Linked DNA regions of Homo sapiens: region 1 is linked to region 2. Evidence: promoter capture Hi-C in 16 types of primary human blood cells and fetal thymus (Javierre and others, 2016). All regions are on one chromosome and are shown on one strand. Each heading gives the region's core, a stretch centred on a gene start or on the middle of the fragment in contact. The rest is flanking DNA. Distances are from core to core; before and after follow the strand shown. Region 1 overlaps CPNE3 (copine 3). Region 2 holds the start of RIPK2 (receptor interacting serine/threonine kinase 2).

Region 1 (6,570 bases), core at 2,967-5,466, 3.2 Mb after region 2:
TCATATTTTTTTATTATTCCATTCCATGATTATCCTGATTATTCCAATCCATACTAAGGTGTTCCTTTGAATTCCTATTGCACTAATAGTAACAGATTACTGCATTACAGGAACAAGATCAAATTTGGGGTAATGCACACACCCAATTTTTTTTTTTTTGAGACGGAGTCTTGCTCTGTCGTCCAGGCTGTACTGCAGTGGCGCGATCTCAGCTCACTGTAGCCTCCGCCTCCCAGGTTCAAGCAATTCTCTGCCTCAGCCTCCCAAGTAGCTGGGATTTCAGGTGCCCGCCACCGCCCGGTTGAACCCTCCATCTGGCACTTGCTGTGTGACCACGTATAAGTAACTTCAACTTCCTGGGCCTAGATTTCCTCATCAGTAAAAATGGAGATAATGCAAGTAAATTTGTAAATCTGGCACGTGCCAGGCATACTGTTTTTTTGCATCTAATACAGAATCTGTAAAATAAATGTGAGTTGTATGATTTTTTTTTGCATAAGGTAGTTTAGAGTCTTGTAAGTTGTATGTCAGCAATATCAAGCATAATGCAGTGCCCTGTGGATGAACATAGAATGAGCAACAATAGCTAAAGCTTCCCCCAAAAAAACATGTAGAGGATTCTCTACCAGCCAGCAGAAAAGTCTTCAAATTTCCAAGGATGGGAAGAATTCAACAGAGAATGAAGACATCTACATGTGAAGTCAGTCTCACAGCAAAGAGACACCACATATCAGAAGAGCATTATTTTTTTCCCTAAAAATGCTTATACAAAAGCTACAAAAACAACATGCCAGGCACAGCTGATTATTTAACCAATTGCTGACAGTTATACTACTGCATTGCTGCCAGGAAACAAATTTCTTCTATTAGCAGCATTCCTCTCTGAAAAATGACTCTGTGCTGGTCTCAATGTTATCCTGAAACCCATTATGGCTGAATGGCAAATGGAAGAAATTACATAAACACTAGGGTCTGGAATCTTGTTAATGGTAATATTCATGAAGATACTGTTTTCATTTCCTTTTAATGTAATTATCCAGTACATGATATACAATTTTTTAAGAGAGCAATAGTATACTTTATCCACAAATCATAATGGGAGCTGGGCATATTGGCTCATACTTGTAATCCCAGCACTTTGGGAGGCTGAGGCAGTAGGATTGCTTGAGCCCAGGAGTTCAAGACCAGCCTGAGCAACAGAGACCTCATCTCTACAAAAACAAAAAATTTTAGGCTGGGCGCAGTGGCTCACACCTGTAATCCCAGCATTTCGGGAGGCCGAGGCAGGTGGATTATCCCAGGTCAGGAGTTTGAGACCAGCCTGGCCAACCTGGTGAAACCCCGTCTCTACTAAAAACACAAAAATTAGCCAGGCATGGTGGTACATGCCTGTAATCCCAGCTACTCAGGAGGCTGAGGCAGGAGAATCACTTGAACCTCAGAGGCGGAGGTTTCGGTCAGTGAGATCACGCCATTGCATTCCAACCTGGGCGACAGAGCAAGACTCCGTCTAAAAAAGAAAGAAAGAAAGAAAGAAAAATGAAAAAATTAGCCAGCCAAGGTGGCATGCACCTGTAGTCCCAGCTACTCAGTAGGCTAAGGCAGGAGGCTCACTCAAGTTCAGGAGTTCGAGGCCACAGTAAGCTATGCACTGCAGCCTGGGTGACAGAGCAAGACCCTGTCGCAAAAAAAAAAAAAAAAAAAATTATGATGAGGAAAAATAAAACAAACGTTTTATACTCTTTTAGTATGAAAGATTTGGCTGGGATAAGTCACCTGGCAAAGAATGCATGAGCAACTAAAGAAGAATTCTATGTAGTATTTTACTCCTTAAAGAGCAGGATAGAAAACACAAATAATCCCTAGGATTAGACAACAGCTTCCCTACTGTACAGATTATTACTTGTTGGACAAAATTTGATCCAAACACGTCTTCTGAAATGCAAATAATCCCTAGAAACACCAAATATATCAATAATTCTCCCAGTCACCCTAACGTTCTGAATCAATATTATAACAGAGATAAACATAAGGAGCTGAGAATTAAGACCTAATATTTAAAGTGGTACCTGATATGTGAAATTTAAGGCATCTGGTCATTCCCATGCCCTGGCTGAAAATCCTGAAGTCTTATCTACTTCCTCTTTTCCCATTCCTCCTTAAACCTACTCTTAGATTTATCCAGTAAAGATGTCATAGAGATTCTGCCTACTAGAACCCCAAATCTCTCCCAAACATGGAGATACAGCCGCTTTCCCATACCCAGAGTCACAACCCTAACTTCAGGTCTTCTGTATCTCTCACCTGCCTTATATAATAGTCTCCTAATGGGTATTCCCACTGCCATTTTCTCTCCATTCACATTATGGTTTTATCACTTCTGATTAAAAAGTGATAGTCCAATGAACTAAGCCTGGAATTCATGGCTCTGCCAACATCTACCCCTAATCTACCTGAACAGCTACCTCTGCCCACCCAAGTTCTTCAAGATCCACTTCAGGCCGGGCACGGTGGCTCACACCTGTAATCCCAGCACTTTGGGTGGGCGAGGTAGGGGGATCACTTGAGGTCAGGAGTTCAAGAACTCAGCCTGGCCAACATGGTGAAACCCTGTCTCTACTAAATATACAGAAATTAGCCAGGTGTGGTGGCAGGTGCCTGTAATCCCAGCTACTCGGGAGGCTGAGGCAGGAGAATCACTTGAACCAAGGAGGTGAAGGTTGCAGTGAGCCGAGATGGTACCACTGCACTCCAGCCTGGGCGACAGAGTGAGACTCTATCTCAAAACAAAACAAAACAAACACTTCAAATGATACTTCATTCATACAGCTGTTGCTGATACCCTGCTGATACCCCTCATGCTGTTATGGCACTGATTCTATTTTCTTTCCACTATTGTTACTTGTATTTGTGGCTCATCACTCCGTCTATATACTGTGAACTGTGGGCAGCGAACATATTTTACCACTTCCTCTTCTTCCTGAAGCATGACATCTGGCACAGGTTATTTGTAGCAGAAAGAGCAATAATGCTGGAGTCAGCGTGTGTCATTCAAATTTCTTTCCCATCACTAATTTGGATGTGTCACCTCTGCCAAATTGTCTATCTGAACTTCAATTTCCTAATTTATAAAATGGGGATATTAAAAAACCCTGACACTAGTCCTTCAATGTAAATAAGGCTAAGAGAGAAAAATAAACTTAATAAAAACCCTGACAACTGTAGGTCTGTAGCATGCTCAGCATATAATAGACACTCTATGAATTGTAGCAATTATTTTATTACTGAGTCAGGGATTTTAATTGATTGTCTCAGCATAGATGGCTTGTTATTAAGTAGTAAGACATAAAGCAGCTTTCTCATCCTTACTTATGAAAAGCTTCTTGAAACAATAATGATTTTTGGGATTTACATAAAATTAATTTGGTGAAATAGTCAGCCTTGAGTATAGATAAGGTACGCAGGTGAGGGGAGCGCAGGCTCATGTCAGTGACTCAAAATGTGTCCTAAAACAATTGTGAAGGAGAAGTCGGTGCCTATCTACAAATCCCTTTAGTAAAGTTCCTTCAGTCTTCAGCTGAAAAATGAAGAGACTGGCCTAATGTAAAAAATTCTCAGAAGTTCTTTCTGGTTCTAATACCATGATTCACTAACTGCTATTCTGCAGTACATCCTGCCTGACCGCTATTGAAAGCAAGCAAGGGCAACCCTGGGGCAGCTGGAACCGGCCCAGCAACATCAGCAAAACACACCCTAGGCAGTGTTTCTCAAATTGTGTTGCTCAGAATAGTAATAAGTGTTCCCCTACTAAAAAAAAAAAAAAAAAAAAAAAAAAAAAGCAGCGGGCGTCAGGTAATATGGCTGTAAATCCAAAGGCTGCTATGCTCCTCAGAGTTCCCAGGTCAGACTAGCAAATGTATTTATTACCAGGTTACTGTAAACCCATTATTTTGCTAAGGACAGCAGGGACATTATACAGCAACAGAAGCGCTTGTAGCTCATTATAATCAAATTGGGGAGACCCATTCATAAAACAATTACTTACTGAATACTTTCTAGGTGTTCCAAAAGTGAGGGTTGGGGGAGGCAAAAACGAAATAAATACTTAGCTACTTAGCTAACTATGTATACATAGAAATAGTATACAAGAGTATAAAATTGTGTGGTACAGACAGGGAACAATCAAAGTGCTCTTGGAGCTGAAGAAGCTCCCCAGAGATTTCTACTTTTACTGACGATTAAAACTATACTCCACTACAAAAAGAATTTGCAGTATTATTGCTACTGACTACCAGATTTCTTTTTCACCCTTACATTCAAGGGTAGACAGTAAGAAAGTGGGGAGTAGAAGAATAAGGGGAAAGAAAAGATAGTTAATAATTCCATACAACTGGACAGATTTTGTTTTTTTTTACAATTTTCAAAGTGCTTCCAAATAATATATTATCTTCTGAACCTTACAAAAACTCTGTGAGTTAGGCAGGATAATGATTACTACATGGTGGAAGGTCCATATGTCACAGGTATGACTATAATATAAGGCACTCCAGTGTCTGAATTGATTGACCCAGAATATGTTGATAATTTTCAGCACATTGTTAATCTTCAAAATAATGCATAGTATATATTAGGAAAAAAATATAAATTTCTTCAAAAAGGTTAAATTACTTACATGGGATCACAAAGCTAGTAAGTGTCACCACCACAGCATAAACCCAGGTATTTTCCCCTTTATGCCAAAATCCCTTCAGAGCACTAAAGCCTCTAATTAATAGTTAATTAGCTGTCAAGTAAAAATAGTATTAGTAAAAATAAATAAACTCCATAGATGTAAACAATTATGATTTTTCAATTAAAAACAATATCAAAAAATAGTTACTTAGTATAACAGCAATATTCTCTATTAATTTCCTTAAGTCTTGTTAATATCAAAAGTAATATTCAGCCTGACACAAATTAATAAAATAGGAACTTTAAAATTACAAGGTTAATACTGAGGCTAAAACTAGTTATATGGTTCTTAAACAAACGTAACCAGAATAACAAAAGCTTGCCAAAGAATGGAAGAACTGGAATGGTTTATATTTTATTTACCTCATAGCAGTTCCTCTTCAAGATAACCCATTAAATTGTAAATTACTTAAGGCTAAGAAAGCAAGTTCTCCTTGCTAGTGTGTCTCTACACACACAGGTCTGCCATGTGTGTAGGTGCCATTAGATCGTCTTAGAGCAGCAACATTTATTCTCAGGAATATACTGCACTTAATATCCAGACTCTGAGAGTAAAAAACTCACATTAAAAGAATTTAAACTACGCTTGTTCTGTATTTAGTAACAAAGTGATGCCCAGATGTATTTTTTTAATCACTACCACAGGATACCAGAAATGAAGATAGGGAATAATGTCAAGCATAAATATACATAAAACAAAACAAAAAAGAAACAAAAAGGAAGAATCACTGGATCAGGTGTCAAAAGAAATGGACTGGGCAGATCACCTGAGGTCAGGAGTTTGAGACCAGCCTGGTCAACATGGCAAAACCCTGTGTCTACTAAAAACACAAAAATTAGTTGGGCATGGTGCACTGTAGTCCCAGCTACCTGGAAGGCTGAGGCAGGAGAATCACTTGAACCCAGAGGTAGAGGTTGCAGTGAGCCAAGATTGCGCCACTGCACTCCAGCCTGGGTGACAAAGCAAGACTCCGTCTCAAAAAAAAAAAAAAAGAAATGCCTGGTTCTGTGTTAGTCACACCACAATGGCAGGCATTTGGGCAACTGCTGTAACTTCTCCAGGCTTCAGGTTTTTTCAGCTGTTAAATCTTTTTTTTTTTTGAGATGGACTTTCACTCTTGTCGCCCATGCTGGAGTGCAATGGAGATCTTGGCTCACTTGCAACCTCCGCCTCCTGGGTTCAAGTGATTCTCCTGCCTCAGCCTCCTGAGTTGCTGGGATTACAGGCGCTGCCATCACGCCCAGCTAATTTTTGTATTTTTAGTAGAGACGGGGTTTCACCATGTTGACCAGGCTGGTCTCGAACTCCTGACTTCAGGTAATCCGCCTGTAATCTGCCCACCTTGGCCTCCCAAAATGCTGAGATTACAGGCGTGAGCCACTGCGCCCAGCCTTCAGCTGTTAAACCTAAGAGTTGAGTCAATCCCTTTCTTTAAGTAATTCTTAAGGTCTTTTCCATTAATGTACTATAACCCTAATTTAATTACAGTGAATATGGAACTTGTTTAGGAAGTGGTACTAAAGGATTTTTTAAAATGAATAGAAAACATTAGAATATTTATAAGTACAAAAAGGAGAAATGGAAGAAAAAGGATAAAGTTTTCCAAACTCAGTCTCCATCTCTATCAAAAAAGCTATATCTGGGGCCAGGTGCGGTGGCTCACGCCTGTAATCCCAGCACTTTGGGAGGCTGAGGCGGGCGGATGGTCTGAGGTCAGTAGTTCAAGACCATCCTGGCCAACATGGTGAAACCCATCTCTACTAAAAATACAAAATTAGCTGGGCATGATGGCGCCCACCTGTAATCCCAGCTACATGGGAGGCTGAGGCAGGAGAATC
Region 2 (6,467 bases), core at 3,968-6,467:
TTGAATAGTAAAAATGGCAATTATGGCCACTAAAACTGTGTAATACTTACCCTATGTAGGAGTTCATTTAATGATCCATTTGGCATGTATTCAGTAACTATTCCCAAAAATTCAGGCTCATTGCAAATTCCCAAAATTGGAAGAATGTAACTAAATCTAGCTTTGTGTAAAATTTCAGCTTCTCTTAAGACATCCTTTCTTTCACTAAGAAAAAAAAATGCATAATTATTCAAGTAATAAAAAAATATACAATTATCATGCCTATAAGACTAAGCCTGGATTTTTTTTCATTAATTAGCTATGTGACCTCATGTAAATTATGCAACTTCTCTGCACCTTAGTTTCATCATATTTAAAATAGAAATAATACCTACCCTATATATTCCACAGGTCTGTTTAGAGACCAAACTAACTTCTATAAGCCATTGACAGGTAAAAGTGCTAAACACAGGTTTATTATTATTGTACTTATCCCAGGAATGGGAAAGAACATAGTATTAAATTTATAAAGTCTATCTATGTTAGAACAATTGGTGCTTGAACTAATTACATGATTAAGTTTACATTGTATTCAAATGAGCATGTTTTATTAGAATATTATATTAAATTTTATGGTTGCATACCATATAAACATTTTCCAAATATCCTGAATATTAAAACCTTTAAATGTTATAGATTCAATAGCTGCATAAAAGTCAGTAATATTTATAAATTATATACCAGAACTCAGGAAAAGATCACTGAGAACAGGTAAATGCTCAATAATATTAATAGACTGCTGGGGTAACTGGCTCCCAGGTTCATTTGTTTATTCATATGTAAAACAAATATATATTTAACTATTTTTTTTTCTATTTTTCTTTGTCACCCTGGCTAGAGTGCAGTGGTGTGATCACAGCTCACTATAGCCTCAAACTCCTGGATTCAAGCCATCCTCCCACCTTAGCCTCCCCAGCAGCCAGCTAGCTCCACAGGCATGCAACCGTGCCTATTTTTTTTTTGTAGAGACAAGGTCTCACTATGTTATTCAGGGTGGCCTCAAACTCCTGGGCTCAATTGTATCAGACGTCCAATAGGTAGGTATCAAATGATTTCAAGGAAATTAAAGGGAAGGCTAAAGTTGGGAAATTGTGAATTGTTTAATGCACTCCTTTTATGTAATATAAAAGGAGTGAAGGTGAATAAGACAGGTTAGGGACATATCTCAGTCTTAAAGCCTGGTTAGGGTGGTGAAACTTCACTTAGCAGTCACTAAGTGATTGACGGTTTGTTTGCTTTTTTTAACATACAGAATACACACTGGAAACTTTTTTTTTTTTTAACAGACCAGATCTTGCTATGTCGCCCAGACTGGCCCTCCCTACTCTGCCTCTTGAGTAGCTGGGACTACAGGGGTGTGCCAATGTACCTGGTGTGACTGAAAGTTTTTGAGTTGGGGAATGACAGTAGAATACAATTTTAAGATGATCAATTTGGCAACAAGATGTAGGATTAGTAGAAAGTGGTAGAGTTTGAAAGTCAGGTGTTAGGAGATTTTAATACCAGTTAATACATGAACCTAAAACTACAAAGGTAGCAGTGGAAATGGAAAGAAAAACACTAAGTGAATAGAATGCCCGCGTTGTAGTGACTGACTGTAGGGGGTTAAAAAAAAAATGAAAAGGAATTGGAGATGTCATTATTTTTTTACCCTGAGTGACTGGATGTTGGCTGCAGCAATGACAGAAATAGAAATGTTTCCAGGAGAAGCCTATTAGGTAAGTAATGATGATAAGTTAGTTCTTACACCTCCCAAGCTCTGAATGAATGGCTGTTGAAATATGAATAGCAACAGACATTCTAGACCAGACTAAGAGGACTACTTTTAAAAACAAACAAAAAAACAAAGCAAAAGAATCTTCGTCATTTATTTTTTGAATAGGTCATATATTTATATGTCTTAAAATTCAAGAGTAACAAGAAGGCATAAAGTGAAAAGCTTCTCTCATTCTCTGTCCTTCAATCACTTAATACTCCAACTGCTAGGAAACCAGTATCAGTTTGTGAGACCCATTTTAATTAAATGTTTATTCCCTAGATGGAAATAGTTCCATATCTGCCCCAAGAGATTTAGGCCAACAATAGAGGATGACCCTGAAGATTCCTGGATACTAAGAACAATAGAGAGTGCATGCTGCAGAAGTCTCAGTGACACTTCACACACTCTTTCCTCCTCCCATTAAGAGGCATTCTTCTTTCCACTGTGACCCTATTACATGTCAGTCACTTTATATGCACTAGCATCTTAAGATCACCCTCTAAACATAGTTTCATTAGCTCCACTTTATAAATGAGGGCACTAAGGCTCAGAAAAATTAATACTTTTCTAATGGTCACACTAATAAGTGGCAGGGTTGGCGTCAGATTTGAATTGCAATCATGGGACATTAAAGCCTGCATTCTTTCTACCCTATTGCTTGATCAAAGAATATAGTAGGAAAGTTCTTGAAGGTAGATTTTTGGCAAGATTGAGTGAGTGGGAAATTTTTTTTAAAGCCAAAAGATTTTAAAAATTGATTTTTACATTTTGAAAATAAAGGTGTAAAGTACAGCTTCCATAGTCACATCACCAAAATTAACTCAAAAATTTAATCAGAAAAGTTATGTCATCTACAGGGTATTTGAACAACCAATTGGACTCATTACTCATAAGGGGTGGGAAGATTGTTGGGGAAGGTCCACTCATCGGATAGAAGTCAGGTTATGGAGACTGATTCACCAGTCATTAAAATAAGAGCATGTAACATTGCATAAACTTATTTTTTTTCAGGTCATCCCAAAGAACAATGCAAACATTGTTCTCCATAGTCCGAGAAACACATGTATTTATTATTCGTATTTTATAAGTGAGGAAAGAGACACCAGTGAGTCAACTGCATAGCCTCATCTAATGCTCAGACTACATAAATACTGCAATGATAAGATCTTAAGTAACAAATTGGAGAAAAGAATGTGATGCAGTAAATGCCAGAGTGTTTCGCTGGTCTTATGGCTTCCTCGAAGACAGAATTAATTTCCTACCCAATTCAGTGAAGAATTTTAGACTATGAAAATTGTTCATGAGTATGGGAAGGAAACTCCCTCTTCACTTCTTGGTCCCCAAACTGCACAAAGCTTAGATAAATCAAAATCCTGAGAAGCAGCACCCAAAGTGGGAGGATCAATTGGCTTTTCAATACCTAATGGGTCCATCAGTGCTACATTTCCATATAGTGTTTGCATAACTGGTTCTAACATATATCCACCCTCTCTAACCAACCACCACCCTTAAAAGTTGACTACAGACACATATACACACTTGTCCAGCACTTGCTCCACAGAATATAAGGCCTGGAGTAAACAGACACCACACCTTGTATATCACTGAATCTGGATTATGATAGACAAGAAGTGGAAACAAGCTCTAGAAGTGTCCCAAATCTCCTGTGCCATTTAGGCCATCGAAGCCTGACAGTGAGAGACAATGAAGAAAAGCCACAGGCAGGTGAAAATCCAGTAACTTTGGCAGGGCGGAAGCTGAGGAATTTATCTGATGCTGGATACTCACAGCTTCTGGCCAATCAGGCATCGGGGATGACGTATTTTCACATTAGATATAGGAGGAGGAGAAGAGAATGTTGTAATCATGGATGTTAACTCACTAAGAACTGAATGCTGGGCCTAGTTAAATCCCTGTAGGAAGTAAAATACACAAGACTAGTGACCCATTGACTAATACACAGTCACAGGTCTATGGCACGCGGTTGTAATGTTCTTCTGAAAACAGAAACTAATGCTAACCTTCCCTTAAAACCTGTACAAACCAATAAGTGAAAGCCATTTACAATTTCTGGCCATTTAACAGTCTTTTGGTTCAATTTATTGTGGCAAAAATAGCACACATTTCCTCTACTTAATCTTCCCTGTGAGAGAAACTGAGACTGGGAGAAACTGAACTGCTAGTATTGAGTTTGATATAAAACGTTCCTGACAACACATAATAAACCAAAACCAAAATAAAAACAATAAGAAGCAAAACATCCTTGATTCTAAAGCAGTGCGGTCCAATAAACATATAATGTGAACACCACCACATACAATTTAAAATTTTCTCGTGGCCACATAAAGTAAAAAGAAACACATAAAATGAATTTTAATCTTATATTTAACCCAAGATATCAAAAATGTTATTTCAGCATATAATCAATAAACAAATAATAAAATATTATAAGTTCTTTTTTTAATAAATACTAAGCATTCGAACTCTGGTATTTTACACTTAGGTCACACTTCAATTCGGACGGGCACATTTCAAGTGCTCAATAGCCACCTGTGGCTAAGAGCTACCTACTGGACAGTGCAGCCCTACAGCCCAATTTCAAAAATAAGGAAAAAACAAAGCAAACAAAACCCACACCCACTATATATAAACACACATCAATTTCAGTAAACCCAGCGTTTAGAGTTAGGCAGTGATTGCTGATTTTTGGAGTACGGAGCCAGAACGCCTAGGAGTAAGAGGGAAGGAGAGAAAGGGTAATGGAGAGATGTGTGGAGGAATGCAACTGCTGCATCTCCAGAGAAGCCTGTGCTCCCTACGGTGCCAGAGCTTGAAGGGTGGGTGCTCCCTATCTCCCAAGCTTGAAGGGCTCCCTAGAGGTGACGAGGTGAGGCCGGCCCCAAGCGGTCACTGCCATTTGGGCTCTAGAGCCCGCTTGTCAGGGGGCTTGAGGGGATGCAGGAGTTGAGGGCTCTTCCAGGGAACCCCAGTGACTGCCTACCTGTCGAGCAGCGGAGTGTGGATGTGCAGGTGCTTCACGGCCACCTGGACGCGCCAGTCTGCGTGGCGGGCGGACGACACAGTGCCAGAGGCGCCGCGGCTCAGGTAGCGCAGGTCGGCGAGTTTGTGGTAGGGAATGGTGGGCAGGGCGCTGCAGATGGCCTCCCCGTTCATGGTCCCGGGCGCTCAGGCCGGTTCCGGGTGTGCCCCCTGCTGCGGCGGCTCCCAAGGCTCCCACGCCGCGCTCAGGCGCCCAGATACGCCCCTGCACGAGCGAGGCCGGCAAGACCCTTTTTGCCCCGCAACACTAGGTCACGAGGGCGCCCATTCCCCGGATGGCCCACGCCAGCCGCTGCTTCTCCGAACCAGAGCTGACTTCTTTTCTAGAGACTGGTGCCAACGCCGTAGCGCCGCGAAAGAGCTTCCTCTCTCGCAGCCCCGGCCCTCCCCCCGGCGCGCGCAGCGACCAGCTCCGGCCGCCCGAGCTCCTCCCTCCCCAAACTTCGCAGGTTACGTCAGCGGCGGACGGCAAGGCGGGGAGAGGGGCAGCCCGCTCGCGGCCCTCCCGCCTGGCTCTCGCCTCGGCCTGCGGCCGGGATCCTCCGCCCGGGTCGCGCAGCGGAGGCCGAGGGCTGGGACGGGCGGCTGGGAAGTGGGAAAGGGAGCTCCTTTTGTCTTCTCTTCCCATCCCCCAGGTTTGGGAAAGTTTTCCTTTTGGGAAAGCCCCTCTCTTCAGCCTGCTGGCGGGTGTCGGATTGGTTAGCGACCACCGGCCCCCGCCTCCCCCAACAGGATTCTCCTTTGGGCCACAGGTCTTCCGGAAGTTGCCAAACCCCGGTAGCGGCAGCGTCCGGCTGGGGGCTTTATTAGGGGGCACCGGGGTCTGCTTTCCGACTCCCTTCCGACTCCGCGCCTGCGCAGGAAGCGATTTGGGGAGTGTTGTGAATTCCGAGGGCTCCACACTTAAGAGGTTGTACACTCACCTGTCTACCTGGACTCCAATTTCCATATTTCCAGCCACTTGAGGACTGAGAGGTGGATGATAAACCCTGTCATAGTGGAGCAAGTTCAGGTGTTTAACCGCTGTTATGGGGGATCTGCCTTTTCTCCCTCTTCTTTCTTACTTCCATAAGTATGTATGTGCAGAGATTGAAAAATAACCTTGAGAGAGTCCATCCATCTAACTCCAGGTAAGACTGCAAATATTTCTTTCTTATAAATCTGGGAGGAATGCAGTCAGTGTTTCATGCCAACCAAAAAAGACTGCAAACGTTTTTCCATCCTTCTGCCTTGAATACCTTTCTACTTAGATGACTATTTTGTAAGACGTGAGTGCAAATGTTATATACAATACCAACTCCATACTAGATGTTTAATTAATTCTAGGGATTCAGTAATAAGGAATGACTCGAACAGATTTCTGCCTACAGACAGCTAATGCTTCTTGTATTTTTGCATTACCTGAAATGAAAGTAGCAATGTTAGATTTTACAGTAGTGGGAGGTTGTAAACAATAGTATGTTAAACATTTTTGATCATTTATAATAAAATGTTCAGCACTAAACATATGGTCTGATACTCTGTGCTTTATTGCTTAATAAGCTTTTTTTTTTCTTTTCGAGAGGGAGTCGTGCTCTGTCACCCAGGCTGGAGTGTAGTGGCGCGATCT

What was found. The method cuts DNA at HindIII sites, captures the fragments that hold promoters and counts their contacts. A CHiCAGO score of 5 or more calls a contact.
Region 1: a contact is called between a fragment that was not itself captured here and the fragment with the promoter of RIPK2 in region 2, in 1 of 17 cell types (total B cells). The highest score is 5.6, in total B cells.

The regions. Positions count from the first base shown.
Region 1 is chr8:86,519,817-86,526,386 of GRCh38, reverse strand. All of the region lies in intron 2 of CPNE3 (copine 3), which reads right to left. Among named protein-coding and RNA genes, the nearest start is that of CPNE3, 8.7 kb to the right of the region's middle. RefSeq lists enhancers at 2,930-2,979, 3,000-3,099. The HindIII fragment of the contact is 1,670 bases long and covers 3,382-5,051 here.
Region 2 is chr8:89,756,566-89,763,032 of GRCh38, reverse strand. RIPK2 (receptor interacting serine/threonine kinase 2) reads right to left here and starts at 5,217. Exons shown (of 11, transcript NM_003821.6): 1 at 4,800-5,217; 2 at 51-204. The coding sequence starts at 4,972. It overlaps PARAIL (palmitic acid regulated anti-inflammatory lncRNA), which reads left to right and starts at 5,322. Exons shown (of 5, transcript NR_125822.1): 1 at 5,322-5,988. RefSeq lists enhancers at 3,374-3,463, 4,742-4,811 and a silencer at 5,352-5,471. The HindIII fragment of the contact is 1,742 bases long and covers 4,661-6,402 here.